2 separate regions of the Homo sapiens genome follow, and region 2 is linked to region 1. The links are contacts of gene promoters, found by promoter capture Hi-C in blood cells and fetal thymus (Javierre and others, 2016). All regions are on one chromosome and are shown on one strand. Each heading gives the region's core, a stretch centred on a gene start or on the middle of the fragment in contact. The rest is flanking DNA. Distances are from core to core; before and after follow the strand shown. Region 1 holds the start of TMPRSS6 (transmembrane serine protease 6). Region 2 overlaps CACNG2 (calcium voltage-gated channel auxiliary subunit gamma 2).

The links. Contacts are between HindIII fragments. The CHiCAGO score rates a contact against its expected background, and 5 or more counts as called.
Region 2: a contact is called between a fragment that was not itself captured here and the fragment with the promoter of TMPRSS6 in region 1, in 1 of 17 cell types (M1 macrophages). The highest score is 5.1, in M1 macrophages.

What each region holds. Positions count from the first base shown.
Region 1 is chr22:37,106,422-37,111,754 of GRCh38, forward strand. It overlaps TMPRSS6 (transmembrane serine protease 6), which reads right to left and starts at 3,292. Exons shown (of 18, transcript NM_001374504.1): 1 at 3,082-3,292. RefSeq lists an enhancer at 1,522-2,023. The HindIII fragment of the contact is 29,267 bases long and covers 1-5,333 here.
Region 2 is chr22:36,612,287-36,617,619 of GRCh38, forward strand. All of the region lies in intron 1 of CACNG2 (calcium voltage-gated channel auxiliary subunit gamma 2), which reads right to left. Among named protein-coding and RNA genes, the nearest start is that of EIF3D, 86 kb to the left of the region's middle. The HindIII fragment of the contact is 159 bases long and covers 2,452-2,610 here.

The DNA.
Region 1 (5,333 bases), core at 2,042-4,541:
TATGCAGATTTTGCCTCCCTCTAAATGCCCCTCGCATCCATCTGGGAGGACTTTGAGCAGCACAGAGAGGCTCATTTTCAGGACACCCTCTGTAAAAACCCAAGCCATGGTCCAAATGGCAGTAGTGGGAAATTAATTCCCCCGGGCTCATCATAACTTCCCACCCAAACCCCTGGGGCGGCCTCCTCACTAGGTCCCCTGCCTCCATTGCGTCTTCCAGCGCATCCTCCCTCCCCAGCTCAATCGCTCACCTGCTCAGGATCCTTTCACAGCTCCCAGCCACTTATCATCCAAACCCCTTGCTGCGACATCCAAGACCCTCCATGGCCAGGCTGCTGTCCACCCTCCTCGTGGCTATAACTTCCATCATGCACATGGTGCCCCAGGCCCACGAGACCCTGCCTTTGTGCAGCTGAGTCCCCCTGCCTGGACTGTGGGGAACTCTTACCAGGCGACCTGCCAGGCACTGGGTTCTGGGCCCCTGGCTAGTTAAGCTGCCCCCTCCCCTGGGCAGCCCTTGATCAGATCAAGAATATGCCTTGGCTTTGGGTCTTGCCTCTGTCCCCTACAGAACAGGCAGGGCCAGCATCTTGCTCACCTCTGGGGTTCCCCATGGAACGCCGCACAGCCCGTCACATGAGTGAAGGATCAGAAAGAATGAGTGAATGAAACTGCCAAGTCTCTAGGCCCCTGGTACAGGGCTTTCTATCTTGCTGCCTCCAGGAAGGAGGACTTGTGAGGCCTGGCACTGGGGCATGGACAATGGTGTGGGCCTGTGGGGTCCCAGGTTCAATGCTCAGTCACCCTATCTTTGTCTAGCACCTGCTTGGTGCCAGGCTCTGTGGTGGCGACAGGGTGGCACATGGTGACTCTAAGAGACCTCATTCCCATCCTCTTGGGTTTCCTGCCCAGCAGGAGGAGGGGCAGTGGACAGTTGTGAAGATGACGGTGCCACTCTTGTCTTTACTATCTTATAATACAACGGCTCCCCCATTCCCAGGGTCCAGCACCTTTGGAAAAGCCTGTGGCCCTACCTTCCAAATGCCCCCCAAAGCCAGCCCCTTCTTGGCCCCCCATGACTCCCACCATCATCCAGGCCACCGTCATCTGTCACCTCGACTCCTGCAATAGCCAATCACCCACCCCCCTACCCAGTGAGTTCTCACACAATGGCCACTGCGTGTTGTCACCATGTGCCCTGCCCACAAGCCTCGCACGGCTTCCATCCACCTAGAACACAGTCCCTAAAGACCCAGGGTCTCAGTTTTCCTGTCCTCTTTGCTGAATGGGAGGTTTGCTCCTTGCTGGGCCTGGGATGTTTTCCTTTCTGCTGGCCTCGTGGCTCCCTCCTTTACCTCCTCCAAAGGGTCAGATGTCACCTCTCCAGAGAGGCCTTCCCTGGGCACTCCCGTCTCTCCTGCATTTTTCTTTATAGCAATTACAGAGGCCTAAATTGCCTGATATGCAAATATGTCATTTATCTGCCTCCTCCCTGTCTGTAAGCTGCATGAGAGCAGAGTCTGGTACTCAGCGGACACTCAGTAATTGTTAAATGAATGAATGACAAGGTCCCAGCTCCTTCCTCCCTACAGAAGTCCAAGGTGCTGTGTGCATATGTGGCCTGGCCAACTTCTCCTGCCTCCTTTTTTCCCACCCTCTCTTTTCCCCGTCGCACCCCAAGGACACTGGACTTCCATTGGTGAGAAATTTTAACAATGGGATGGTAGCAAACATTTATGGATTAAGAGCAGCCAGCCGGCACCAAGAGCCCTCGTGGACCTTGAGCCCTGTCAGTGCTTGTTCACGGCCAGGCGTCCCCACACTCTTCCTTCTGCCTGGGCCCCCACCTCCCAACCTGGCCAGCTCTTATGCAGCCCCTGTCACCTCAGTTCAGACCTCACCTCTTCGCAGCTCTCCCAGAGTGCCCTAGAAGGGGCGGCTGCCCCTCGCGATGTGCAGCTTACCTGTGGGCACTCTCTCTTTGCCCCTCACATTGAACTCCTGGAAGCGGGGACTGTGCTCCAATTGCCACAGGGGCCTGAAGCAGTCCCCCAGCTCTGAGCACCATGGACCCCACCCTGGCACCTGCTCCTCACTCCCTCCTGCCCTTCTGGCCATTGGAGGGTCTCGGGTCTGCCTGCTGGAGGCTGAGCTCCTTGGGGCGGGGCCGCGACTCCCCCAGCAATGCAGATCCGGATTCAACCACTGCGTATGAACTCCTACCATGTGCCAGCCCTGTGCTGGGCAGTGCTGCAAACTCCACTGCAGCCTCCAACAGCCTGGGGTGCCTACTTTGCTGACTCTATTTAATGGCTGGGGAAACTGAGGTAGAGAGAGGTAACATGACTTACCCGAGGTCCCTCAGCCAGGGCAGAGCAGAGCAGAGCAGGGACTCTGGGCTAGGGCCATAGGGGCATCTTTCAGTGAAACCATTAGGCCCTAGAGTCCTGAGAGTGTGGGGGACTGGGTGGGGGTCCCTTCCACACATATAAACACACTCACAGACCCACAGATGTACACAGATGGAGACACGCGGAGGGATATACGCACATCTATTCATGACACAAAAATTCATAGATGCACGCCCTTCCTACACAGACACACACACGAACACACATACACATACATGCCAACTCTGAGCCTGTGAGCCCAGGGTCCTGGGCTTAAGTCAGTACATAGGTGCAATGTGGGGCTCCGGGCCTGTCTCCTACACCAGAAGGCCCAGGTGGGGTACCGGGTGTGGAGGGGGCAGCATGTCCAGTCCTGCGAGGCAGGGGTAGGGTGGCCTCTCCCTTCCTCCTGTCCCTGCCACCTGAATCCCAGGCCACCAACCACCCAGCACTGATGCTGTGCCTGTCCACACACCTGGTGTCACCCTGCGTGGTCCCTCCCCTCCCCAGCTCTGTGGGCCCCTCACCTTCTGCTCACTGATCACCCTCTGGCCGATGAGGCCCTGCAGGCCTGGCCTCGGAGCAGGGTAGGTGGCTCAGGCTGCAGGGAGCCAGGCCCAGCTCTTAGGGTGGACACTGTCACTAGGTCATTTATAGATCCCGGTCCCCTGTCCTGGAGGCCCCCGCTTACCTTTGGGAGCGGCAGATAGGTGCCGGGCCTGCACACAGGCCTCAGGAGCCTCTGTTTGTCCAGGCCAAGGCCTCCCCACCCCCACCCAGCCAGCCCAGGCTGGATCAATGGCCTAGAGCCATGACCAGGGTGTCTGGCCCTTGTCCCCTGTGGCCTGTGGCCTCAGGCTCCATGGAACTCCTCCTGCTGGGTCCTGGACAGCACTGTGACTAAGTACAGGTAAACAGGCAGGAGGTAGGAGAAGGCAGTGCCTGCCCCGCCCCATCTTCCCCCACCCCCGCATGGGCACCCCAGAGGCTGGCAGGCAGGTGCGGGAGATCTGAGCTCTCCCCCGAGGCCCGTTGCCTGGTGACATGCCTGCCTGGTTACAGCCCCTGGTCCCCGAGAGCATGAGGTAGGGACAGCCAAGGACTGGGGACTGTGCAGAGGCCGGTGCAGGTGAGTGCAGGGGCTCACAAGGGTGAGTCCAGGTGCTTACCTGGACAGGCGAGACTAAAGGAGCTGCTGGCCTGAGAGAGAGAAAAGGAGGCTGGGCCCATATACTCTGGGGACTGGAGAGGAGAAAGGGGAGGCAGGGGTGGGGTTTGATGCTATTTTCTGTTTAGCTGGGAATTATTTGAATTCCTACCTCGTTCTTTTTTTTTTTTTTTTTTTTTTTTAAGATGGAGTCTCACTCCGTCACCCAGGCTAGAGTGCAGTGGTGTGATTTCGGCTCACTGCAACCTCCGCCTCCCGGGTTCAAGCAATTCTCCTGCCTCAGCCTCCCAGGTAGCTGGGATTACAGCGCCCACCACCATGCCCGGCTAATTTTCATAATTTTAGAAGAGATGGGGTTTCACCATGTTAGCCAGGCTGGTCTCGAACTCCTGACCTCAAGTGATTCCACCCACCTCGACCTCCCAAAACGCTAGGATTACAGGCATGAGCGACCGCACGCAGCATGAATTCCTACCTGGTTCCGTAGCGCTGTGCTGTCCATGACGGTAGCCGCTGGTCACCCGTGGCTCTTGAGTCAGTCTGAACTGAGAAAAGCTGCACGGGGGAGACGCACACCAGGTTTCCAAGGCCAAGTGCAAACAGGATGTCAACCAACGCGATAACAATTTTTATATTGATTTTATGTTGAAATAACACTGGTGATCATGGGATAAATAAAATGTATTATTAAAAGCAATTTTCTTCTGGCTCTCTTGTTTTTTTTTTTTTCAGAGACAGGGTCTCATTAGGTTGCCAGGCTGGTCTGGAGCTCCTGGGCCCACATGATCCTCCTGCTTCAGCCTCCCAAGTAGCTGGGATTACAGGCGCGGGCCACCACACCCCTTGTTGCATGTGGATATTAGACAGGTTAAGTCACAAGTGTGACCTGCGTTGTTGTTCTATGGAACAGCGTTGCTGTGGAGATGGGTTTGAGCCATATGCGTGCCGAAGTGCCGGATGGGAGCCAGGGCTTTCTAGGGTGCGTGCAGGGCAGCGGGCGTCTGTCTCAGACAAGGCTGACTTTCAGCGAGTCTACATCCTGAGGCCAGAATGCGGGGTGCACGCCTGAGATGCTGTGTGCTGTGGGCATATGGGTCCCAGAGTGTGTGTGTAAGAGAGACAGTCTGGAATTTGTGTGTGTAGATTATGTATGTGTAGAATGTGCGTGTGTGTGTGTGTGTGTGTGTGTGGAGCGTAGGGATTGTGTGTGGGGTATAAGATTTGTGTGAGAGGTGTGTCTGTGAGGTTTGTATGGTGTGGGGTGGGGGGTGTGTGAAGTGTGTTGTGTGGGCATATGGACTGTGCATGTGTGTGCAGTGTGGGTGCTGGGAATGTGCAGTGTAAGGTGTGTGTGTCTTTGAGGTACGTATGGTGTGAGGTGTGTATGGAGCATGAGAGGTGTGTGCAGCTGTGTGTGTGTGTGTGTGCATGCTCACAGTATGTGTGGAATATGAGGCATGTGTTTAGTGTGAGGTGTGTGCATAGTGTGAGGTGTGTGTGTAGTGTAAGGTGTATGTAGTGTGAAGCATGTGTGGAGTGTGAAGCGTGTGTGTAGTGTGAGACGTGTGTGGAGTGTGAGGTGTGTGTGGAGCGTGAGGCATGTGTGGAGTGTGAGGCGTGTGAGTGGAGTGTGCAGCGGGTGTGAAGTGTGAGATGCTTATGGATTGGCTGGGATGGGACAGGGCCCCGCGCCCGGGCTTTGCCGTGACCGCCGGTTTTCAGCCCTACCTGGCTCCCTTTTAGTTGTAGGAACCTGGGCAGATTCCCTGACTTCT
Region 2 (5,333 bases), core at 1,281-3,780, 490 kb before region 1:
CTAATATTTGTAATGGACTTAGAAGAGTACTTTATGCATAGTAGGGATTCATTAAATGTCAGCCATTACTATATTAGTATAACATAAGGTGCCTGGCACATAGTAGATGCTTAATAAATGGTATTGACTACAACCACATTGAGAATAATCTTCTACTCTGCCTGGAGTAAAAGACTCTAGCCTCCTAAGTCCCTGAGATCCTTACTAGTTTTCTTCATTGTTTTTACCAGCCAATATCTTCCGTACATTCATAGTTTATCGTCCCTGGAAATCTCATAACTTCTTGGAGGAGAGAGGCCACCTCCTGGTTATGCCTCTTCCCACAACCCTCTCACTTGGCCAGCATCCGCCTGGTTATTTGGCTGGTCATACGCTCCACCACGAGCACACAACACATGTCCAAAGAATGTGCTTCCCACGCTCCTCAATCCTCACTTTCCCAAACATACCCCCTCCACCACCTTCCAGCTTGCTACCACTTAGCAGATGCCTGATATGTTTTAGCTCAATGAATGAATGAGAGAACCCAGACCAAAGAAGTCTTTTGTCCTAAGCTTGGGAGAGGATGCTTTTTACCAGTGGTTTACCGGCTGCAGGTATTTCATCCATTAGACACATCCTTTCCCGCTAATGCTGTGATTTCCAAAGTTCATTCTGCTGATTCCAGCCCCAGGAGATGCTAAGAGGAGATACAAAATAAAGGGGTTCCACTGGCAAGTAAGTTTGGGAAATGCTGAACAAGGGGAGGTTAAATAGGTTTCCTTACCTCAGGGCTTTTCTGTGCCTTTACTATGCTAACTGCATTGTCAAACTCTAATGTGGGAATATAGTGCTCAATGTTTCCAAAAGTTCATTTCATTACAGGCTCTCTGTGTGTGTGTGTGTGTGTGTGTGTGTGTGTGTGCATGTGTGTCTTTCATCTCACGGGGCTACAATCTTTGGATCACTCTTTGGGGAACACTGCAGTAAATGAATCTTGGATTTCACACCTGTACTTTCATGCACAGCAGGGAGTAATGAAAAAGCAAAATGCAAAGGTTTCTAATACCTTTCTCCCTCAAGTGCTAGTGTGGGAGGCATTTCTATACATGTCCCTACAGTCAGCATCTACACATGCCCCTACAGCTTTTGCTATGCACCGTTGACATGATTTGAGTAATCTGACCACCTGGCTTCTTTCTTGATGTGCCGTCTTCCCTTGGCGTCTGGGTCCTCAAGGTTGCTTGGTTTTCTTCCTGTTCATTTTCAGACTCCTTTGCAAGGTCCTCTTCCTCTGATTATCTTGTACATTTGGTGTTTCTGGGGCTCTCTCTTTGGCTGTCTTCTCTTTTCATTCTACATATGTTCCTCAGAAATCTCATCTCTGGCTTCCGTTTTCACTTACATACTGATGACCCACAAGTCTTTATATACAACCCAGTCCTGTCTTCTTTCCCTTGAGTTCTTGGTGCGCTGGCTGTCCCCCCGTGAATATCCCACAGATATCTGAACCTCAACCTGAACTTAGTGTCCATTTCCCCCATCCTCTTATGCTGGCTCAATAATAAATCATGCCTTCCTCCAGCCCATTTCCCAAGCTGCAAACCTTGGAGTCATCCTTGATTTCTACCTCTTCATCTCCACTCCCAGCAAATCGCCAATTCTTTAACATGTCTTGAATCTGGACCCCTACCAACCGTTCCCTGCACTCTCAGAACACCCTCCAACCCCCAAGTGGCTCCCCTGCTTCCCTCTTCCCTACCACTGATTACTTCCACTCTGTAGTCACTGTGATTTACAAAAGGTGAAATCGGAGCTGCCTCTCCTCAGTGCCTCCCCATTCCTACAGGATGACGTCCAAACTCTTTGACAAGGTCAACAGGGTCCACCACAATTCGACAGCTGCTTTGATCTTCAGAAACTACATCCTGTTGTAAGTCCCAGGACCCACCACGCTCTCTCCTATCTCTGGACGTTTGCCACGTGCTTCCTGGCTGTCCTTCCCAACTCACTTCTCTATCACTTCTCCTCTCTGCCCACCCCTGGATACTCCCTATTGATGCCTTAGTGCTCAGTTTACACATCATTTCCTTGAGGAAGGCTTCCTTGAAGACTGTCCCTTCCCCCACATCACCCCAAATCCTGAGCCGGCAGCTCCTTCTGGTTCCCATGGCACCCCGCACTCTTTGGTATGGCGACATTCCTGGACTACATTGAAAGGCCTGTGGCCTGCTTCCTTGCCTGTCTCCTCCACTGGTGTGAAAGCCCCTTGAAGAGCTGCTGCATTCATCATTGTATCCTGAGGCAGAGGCAGAGGCAGCCTGTCCACCCTCTCATGTTTCCGATGCACCCAAGCACCATCCAGCCCCGGGTCAGCACATCCACAGAGAGCAGGCAGGGTGGTGGGAGCAGCAAGTGGTGAGGCCTGTGATGCCATAATCAATTTTGCTGGGCTTAGCGTAGTTACTGAAAAGCTTGTGGAGGGAAGAGAACACACCTATTGACTCAAAGGAGGTTTGGGGATTTTCTGTGGTTTGCAACGATCCATTTGCTCGTTACTAGCTGAGATCTGGAATTGGCAGTACTGACATAATGGCTTATGTCCGTGGACTTACTGCACATGGAGAAAGAAGCTTCGGAGTCTGGGGGAAGAATGCATTTCGCCTTTCCAAGCTTCCCTTGTCCTTGCCTCATCTCTTGAGCGGTGCCAGATGACAAGGGCCTCTGTCACTGTGATGCAGTTTACTTCCTATCTCCCTCTCTAGCAGAGGTCTGCTCTTGGAGAACGGACTATGTGTATTTTGTTCACAATGTACCTCCACTGCCCATCCAGGGCTTTGGCTTGCACCAGGTGCCCAGTAAATGTCTGGAGAATAAATGAATTGAATGAAGGTATTCGCAGCCATATGTCCACTACAGCCTATAAGGCTGCATCTGATTTGGTTGGGAGGGCAAGTGTGTGTACAAGGTTTGTAGTGATTGGCAGGAATCTCACAGATAAGACTAGTGAACAAACTGCACAAACTACTGCCCAGTGGTTGGATTTCCTGTATCTCATGGGTACCACACCTGCAGGGCCCTTCTTGGTTTAGTCTGTGATGACTGCTACGCTCAACTGCCGCTTTCCACAATCTGACTGCTCAGCCACACTGGATTCCTGATTTCTCTTTCCATACAACAAGCAGACTTCCCCTCTGGGCCTCTTGCACCATGGCTCCCCTGTCTAGAATGCTCTTGTTTTGCATCCGCATGATGGGCTCCTCACTTATTCAGGACAAAAATGATATGACCATCATTCTCTGTTCCCCCAGCTGGGTTAATTTTCTTCTTATCACGTACCCTGCATTCATCTTACCACTATCACATTTTTATTTATTTTTATGTTTACTGTTAGTCCCATTAGAATGGACGATCCACGAGGGCGGGGCTTTGCTCTGCTCACTGTTGCAGCACCAGAGTATAGACCCATGACTGGCATGTAGCAGGTGCTCAGTAAATATTTGTGGAACAGTCTGATTTAGCTTTCTGCTTTCCAAAGAAATAATGTCACAATAGTGTTAGTTAAAAAAAATAGTGTTAGTTAAAAAAATTGTGTTAGTTAAAAAAAGAAAGAACTCACAGATGTACTGCATGTCAAGGTATGAAAGTGTGTCTATGTTCAAACATTCTCTTATTTATTCCTCACATAATATTATTCAACCACACACGTGGTAGATGGAGTGTTTATCTCTCCTATTTTTCAAATCCAGAGCTCAGAAAAGTAAAATCATTTGCCCCAAAGACCCTCAACTCAGAAACTTATGTCATCTGACTCCAGATCTCGTGTCCCTTGAGTGACAATGTCCTTGAATTACTTAACCTCTTGTTGCCCTGGTGTCCTCATCTGTGATATGGAGATAAGAAAAGAATAATCCTCCTAGTGTTGTGTGAAGGTCAAATGAGTTAATTTGGTGTGATGCTTAGAGAAGTGCCTGATACATACTAAGAACTCTGTAAATGTTACTTATTATTGTTGAGTTATTTTAATATTGAATTATTATTAAAATTCTCCCTTGTTAGAATTCTATCCTTGAATTTCTGATGCATTTTTCATGCAGCTGCATTTTAGATAAGACATATTAAATACCTGTCTTTCACTACTGGGATTTATCTTGGTAAGGCTGCACGCCATAGTCTAGCGCCTTACGATTCACCGGATTTTCCTGTCTCCAATTGTTCCCATTCACCTGTCTCCCCAGCGAGAGTGTAAGTTCCTGGAAACTAGAGAGTATTGCTGATAGAGGTCTGGACAAAGTGTGACTGTTTTCCTTTTTCATTGAGATCTGTAATCCATCTGGAATTGATTTTTTTTTTTCTGTATGGTATGAAGCAGGGGTTGAGATGCATTTCGTTCCCTATACAGACCTGGGTGACCCAACACCATTGCATCCTGCTTGCTTGGCTCATAAAGTTCTCTCTGCTTCAACTGCCATCTCCTTTCTCAGGACCTATTTGAGTCTTCCATATTCTTCAAAGCACAACTAAAATCCTGCCTCCTTTATGAAGTCTTTCCTGACTAATGCACTATTCATTTATACCATGATGATCTATTTATTTTCTACTCTGTGTTGGGCATTGTGATAGGCAAAGGGATGCTGGGCACTGGGGAGAGTGGTGAATGAATCAGAGACCATCCCTTCCCTCAAGAATCACACAGGCCAGGAAAGGGACACAGACATTGACCAAGTTATGGTGCATGTGGGTGTTGGGAAGTGGAATTCTGGGCTCCTGGAGATGTGTAACTGGGATGTAACCTAGTTTGGGTTTTCAATGAAGTCTCTCCCAAGGCATCCATGTTGAAATTGAGACCTTGAACATGACTAGGAACTTGCTAGACCAGGTCATGGGGGTGGGGAGATTGGTATTTCTCCATGTTCCAGTCTTGAAGAGCACAGACATATTTAATATTCTTTCTTTATGTTTCATGTTGATCTATCTGGATAGATGTTCCTTGGGGATTAGGAGCAGAAACTATTTTTTAAAAATCCATTACAGAGCCTAGTACAGGGCTGAAAGCAAAGTAGGTGTTCTATGTATGTTAATTCAGAGGGCAGGTAAAAGCATTGTATCAGTCATGCTGGAAATGCTGTAATCTGGTCATTTGCTCAGAGGAGGGAACTAAATGAGAGGAAGTATACCAGCTTTTGGAGGCAGACAGATCTGGTGTAAACCTTGGCTTTGTCACTTACCAGCTATTCATGTTGAGCCAATTTACTTAATCTGAGTCTGTTTCCTCATCTGAAAAAGATATATAATCATATCTGCCCCATAGGCTTATTATAAGTTTAAAAGGAAGAAATCCAGTAAAACCCTGA